2 separate regions of the Homo sapiens genome follow, and region 1 is linked to region 2. Evidence: promoter capture Hi-C in 16 types of primary human blood cells and fetal thymus (Javierre and others, 2016). All regions are on one chromosome and are shown on one strand. Each heading gives the region's core, a stretch centred on a gene start or on the middle of the fragment in contact. The rest is flanking DNA. Distances are from core to core; before and after follow the strand shown.

What was found. The method cuts DNA at HindIII sites, captures the fragments that hold promoters and counts their contacts. A CHiCAGO score of 5 or more calls a contact.
Region 1: a fragment that was not itself captured here is called in contact with the fragment with the promoter of RAB33A in region 2 in 1 of 17 cell types (naive CD8 T cells); the score reaches 5.7 in naive CD8 T cells.

What each region holds. Positions count from the first base shown.
Region 1 is chrX:129,973,648-129,976,486 of GRCh38, forward strand. No RefSeq gene overlaps it. Among named protein-coding and RNA genes, the nearest start is that of BCORL1, 7.6 kb to the right of the region's middle. The HindIII fragment of the contact is 3,364 bases long and covers 1-2,839 here.
Region 2 is chrX:130,170,695-130,173,483 of GRCh38, forward strand. RAB33A (RAB33A, member RAS oncogene family) reads left to right here and starts at 1,268. Exons shown (of 2, transcript NM_004794.3): 1 at 1,268-1,626. The coding sequence starts at 1,369. RefSeq lists enhancers at 1-41, 851-1,805 and silencers at 422-481, 652-731. The HindIII fragment of the contact is 5,739 bases long and covers 1-2,789 here.

The DNA of each region.
Region 1 (2,839 bases), core at 247-2,746, 200 kb before region 2:
TTTGTTGAGTACCCACTAACGTGGGCCACTAAAATGGGTGCTGTTCTTCAATATTTAGCCTCTTTGGGGCAAGAGGTAATAATTTTGCTGAAAGTTCTTGCTAAATTTTATTCTATTCTCCTTCCCAAAAATACATCTCTTTTTCTTTATGTTCAGGTTGTGGGTTTTATTCCTAGGCTTAAATGAAGCAGGCGCTCTCAAGTTCTGAACTTTAAAAATTCCTTATTTTTTTAAACTACTATGGAGCATCTACTGGGTGCCAGGCACTGTTCTAAGTGCTTAACATACAAGAACTCATGTGATCTTTATAACGTTTGCTTCTTCTTCTTCTTTTTTATATACAGAGATGAGTTTCACCATATTGCCCAGGCTGATCTTGAACTCCTGACTTCAACTGTTCCCCCCGCCTTGGCCACACAAAGCATTGGGATTACGGGCTTCAGCCACCGCGCCTGGCCCTTATAACGTTTTCAGGAGGTACTTATTAGCCCCCATTTCACAAATGAGGGAATTGAGGCTCAGAGAAAAGTATGCAAGGCAATAGCGCTAGGAAGTGGTGGAGCCAGTATTCAAACCATGTCTGTCTAACTTCAGAGATTGTGTGCTTAATCACTGAGTGGGAAGAGAAAGACTAAAAGAGACCCAGACTTTAAAATGAGTCTTTGGCAAGAAGGGAAGTCAAGTCTGGGCCTCAGCTTCTCCACTGTAAAACAAGTCCTACTATGTGCCAAGGTGGGAGGTCTTGGGGGGAGATGAAGGAGGCTGTGATACACAGATGAGAAATACTGAGTCCTTTTATCCAAGGAACTTAAAATCTAGTCGGAGAGATAGACAGGCAGAGTGTGGAAGTGCTAACTAAAGGGACAAGCTAAAAACTGTGGGGGTGCCCCAGAGGAGCAGCCAACTTCCATAGGGAGGGTGTGGGTGTCAGGGAAAGGGGCATGAGAGAATGGTCTTTTGTTTGTTTGTTTGTTGTTTGTTGTTTGAGACAGAGTCTTGCTCTGTCGCCCAGGCTGGAGTGCAGTGGCAAGATCTCAGCTCACTGCAGCCTCTGCCTCCCAGGTTCAAGCAATTCTCCTGCCTCAGCCTCCCAAGTAGCTGGGATTACAGGCGTGTGCCATTACACCTGGCTAAGTTTGGTATTTTAAGTAGAGACGGGGTTTTGCCATGTTGCCCAGGCTGGTCTCGAACTCCTGACCTCAAGTGACCCACCCACCTTGGTCTCCCAAAGTGCTGGGATTACAGGCGTGAGCCGCCACACCCAGATGAGAGAGCTGTCTTGAGTAACGGTTGAGTGAGATTTCAATAAGCTGAGAAAGACATATAAAAAGCTGTGGGAGGGGGCAGGTGGGAGGGGCCAGGTGCGATGGCTCACGCCTATAATCCCAGCACTTTGAGAAGCCAAGGTGGGTGGATCATGTGAAATCAGGAGTTCGAGACCAACCTGGCCAACATGGTGAAACCCTGTCTCTACTAAAAATACAAAAATTAGCTGGGTGTGGTGGCACGTGCCTGTAATCCCAGCTACTAGGGAGGCTGAGGCAGGAGAATCGCTTGAACCCAGGAGAAGGAGGTTGCAGTGAGCCAAGATCACGCCATTGCATTCCAGGCTGGGCGACAAGAGCAAAACTCCATCTCAAAAAAAAGCAAGCAAACAAACAAACAAAAAAACCTGTGGGAGGCCACTATGGTGGCTCACACCTGTAATCTCAGCACTTTAGGAGGCGAAGAGGGAAGGATCACTTGAGGCTAGGAGTTCAAGACCAGCCTGGGCAACACAACGAGAACTCAAGAACTCATTTGTGCAATTTTTTTTTTTGAACAAAGTTTTGCTCTCTTTGCCCAGGCTGGAGCACAATGGCGTGATCTTGGCTCACTGCAACCTCCACCTCCTGAGTTCAAGCGATTCTCCTGCCTCAGCCTCCTGAGTAGCTGGGATTACAGGCACCTGCCACCATGCCTGGCTAATATTTGTATATTTAGTAGAGATGGGGTTTCACCATGTTGACCAGGCTGGTCTTGAACTTCTGACCTCAGGTGATCCACCCGCCTTGGCCTCCCAATGTGCTGGGATTACAGGTGTGAGCCACCACGCCCAGCCTCATCTGTACAATTTTTTTAAGTGTTTAAAAAAAAAAAAAAGCTGAGGAAGCAGAGCTGACAAAATGGATGGCTTATCCAAGGAATGCCGAGGGGGCCAGTCAGGTCAGAAAAGAGGGCTTGTGAGAGACATGGAAGGAAAGGAGGCTAGAACTAGATCAGGGAGGGCCCTAAAGGCTAGGTGAAGGCTCATGGACTTGATTTTGTTGGCAGTGGCCAACCATAGCCAGTTTTTCAGGAGGGCAGATTTCTTAGAATCCCTTCCACTTCTAGCACTGCATGTTTGATTAAGAACTTTGTTGGCTGGGCGCGGTGGCTCACACACCTATAATCCCAGCATTTTGGAAGGCCAAGGCTGGAGGATCACTTGAGCCCAGGAGTTCCAGACCAGCCTAGGCAACATTGCAAGACCACGCCACCACCACCCCCTCTAATGTTAAAAAAAATAATAATTTTTAAGAAAGAACTTTGTTTAGAGCCTAGGAGTCTCAGGGAAGAGGAGAGTGGTCAGCAAGCTGAAGGGCTTGACCCGGTGAGGCCTCTGGGTTGATTTCAGCCCCTTTCCTCATTTTCACTCCTTTGGCTATAAAATCCAAAAAAGTTGTTGGTTGTTTACAGAGTTCAGTTTAACCGGACATGCTGTCTCCCCATCCACACCTGGGGCTCTAAGAGGGCAGAGACCAGGCCATTTGTTCTCTGGGAGCCAGCACTTAGTATCCAGTACTCTGTAGGCAGCTGG
Region 2 (2,789 bases), core at 18-2,517:
TCTGGCAAATTAGACCCAACCACTTTGTTCTACATTCAGCTGCAGGGGGAGGTGAACCCTCCTAGGGATTCCCAACTCCCTCTGAAACTCCAGCGTTCTGGAGGGACTTATGGTTATATGGAGGGCTTGGGAATGGAAGGCACTGTGGAGCTTATGCCATTGTCCCAAGATCCTCCACCTGGGCCAGTAATGGCTAGCCCCGTAAACAAAGTCCCCTTTTGCTGGAACTGCCACCACTAGCTTCCCCCCCTTCTCCTAGCCTCTGTGTGGCCCTCTCCCGCGGCGGGCCTTCCCCATTGGCCAGCCAAACACAACCGACTGCGGCAGCCAATAGGAGCCGCTCTCCTGAACATTCAGAGGATGGGTGCGCGTGGTGTGATAAGGGGATGTTGGCGCCTGGTACGCGCCCCCCTACATCTGGCAAGTCTGTAACAGAAACAGTTACACCCCCTACACACGCACACGCGTGCCCGCTGGCTCCCTCCTCTCAGCTGTACAGGCCCCGGACAACCCACTGCGTGTCTTGGCAGCGGCCTCCCAGGCTGCCTGGGGCCCGCGAGTGCACCTGCTCACTCATTAAGACAGAGCATCCCTTTATCCCAAGGCGCGGGTCGGGTAGAGGGTGGGGGTAGAGGGGACGGGGTAGCGGGGACCGGGAAGGCGCGGCTCAGCTGCCCGCTGCTCCCGAGGTGAAAGAGGTGCCTCCGCCCCCACCCCATCCCCGCAGAGTTGCGTTGCTCCAGGGAGGCCGAAGTGATCCAGTGATGTCTTAAGGTGCAGCTCTTTGTCCTCCCCAGCTGTGCTCCCTGCCCGCTGACCCCGTGCGCTCGAGCCAGTGGGGGTGGGGAGCCCGAAACCTATAACATAAACGGGGGCAAGGAGAAAGAAGTCTATCCCGGGGTGGCGTGTGCCGCTGTCCCCACCCCGTCTCTTTCCTCCTGAGGCTTCTTCCCTCGGGTCCGTCCCGGGAATGCAGGCAGGGGAGGGTGTGGGCCGAGGCGCGGCGGCGGCTGGAGCAGCGCGGTAGGGTCCTTCGCCAGAGCATCCGGTCCGAGGGCGCACACAGGCAGAAGGCTCGCGGCTCGTCCACTCTCCTCCCTCTCTCCTCCTCTCCCTGGCTTTTGTGTTGGTGCCTCCGAGCTGCAAGGAGGGTGCGCTGGAGGAGGAGGAGGGGGGCCCGGAGTGAGAGGCACCCCCTTCACGCGCGCGCGCGCACACGGTGCCGGCGCACGCACACACGGGCGGACACACACACACGCGCGCACACACACACGCACAGAGCTCGCTCGCCTCGAGCGCACGAACGTGGACGTTCTCTTTGTGTGGAGCCCTCAAGGGGGGTTGGGGCCCCGGTTCGGTCCGGGGGAGATGGCGCAGCCCATCCTGGGCCATGGGAGCCTGCAGCCCGCCTCGGCCGCTGGCCTGGCGTCCCTGGAGCTCGACTCGTCGCTGGACCAGTACGTGCAGATTCGCATCTTCAAAATAATCGTGATTGGGGACTCCAACGTGGGCAAGACCTGCCTGACCTTCCGCTTCTGCGGGGGTACCTTCCCAGACAAGACTGAAGCCACCATCGGCGTGGACTTCAGGGAGAAGACCGTGGAAATCGAGGGCGAGAAGATCAAGGTGATCCAGGGGGTCAGGTCCAGGAAGGGTGGGACCCGGGAGGGGACCTCGCCCGAGGCATAGCTCTAGCGGTTGTCGTCGTCCAGCGTCCAGCGCGTGGCGGTTTCGCCTCTTGCTGAGCCGAGGACCCTCGGCTCCTCCTCACCCCTTTTCACCTCTCTCAGCGGGGCCCCGTCCCCACTTCACTCAGTTTTTTAGGGCGGTTGAGAATGGGGTTGCATTCTTACCCTTAGCCCCTGCCTGACAGGTCCTGCCAGGAAAAGCATGTTGGATTCCCATCCATGACCCCTACCCCGAGCAGCGGCACCTGTGGGCAGAGGGAGGCAGGAGGCATCTGTGGGTCCTAGTCTCTGGGATGGATCCCAAAGCACTTTACACATCCTGATGTCTCTTCTACTGCTTGGGTGCCGATAGGCTGCAAAACCCCACTTTGGCTAAGCCTCAAGGCGTTAGAGGGAAGGAAATGATGGAAATCCATGGAGAATGAAAAAGCTGCTTTATTTTAAATTGCAGTTTATAGTTAAAAAATTAGGGCTGAGTTGAGATGGCGGTGGAGTGGGGTGGTTCTGGCAGAAAGCCATGAGCCCTTTTAAAGAAATTGAGGCAGGGTCCAGCCCTTCGTAATAGACAAAACTTGTTTTTTTGTAACAGCCCCCCTGGAATGATATCTTCTTTACTTGTCTGGGGCATCTAATACATGAACTGCTCCTTATTCATTCTGTTGGTATTGTCTTCAGGTCTTTGTAAAAATGCAGTGACTTAACCGAGGGCCAGGGGAATGTTCAATCCTCCCCCTCCATGAGTTTATGTAATAGGCTAAGTGCAAATATTCTTGTCTGACCATTTGTGCTCACCTTTAATTCAGAAAAGGTAGAAACCTGATATGACAGGAATATGTCAATGTGCAGGGGATGGCGGGAGGGAGGACATAACAAGGGCAACTTCTTGTGTCATGGGGAGCAGAGGGGGGCCTCTATAAAGGCACTGGGATCACTGAAGACAACTCCTCTAGGCTCACAGCTGGCCTTTCCTTGAGCGTATGGTTGGACCTTAGACAGAGTCAGGGGTGACAGTAAGCCTCCTTCTTGCTGGTCAAACTGCCAAAGTGACCACAAGGCCCCTCCTCTGAGTGACGTGGAGAGAAGGGCTGAGTAACTGATGAA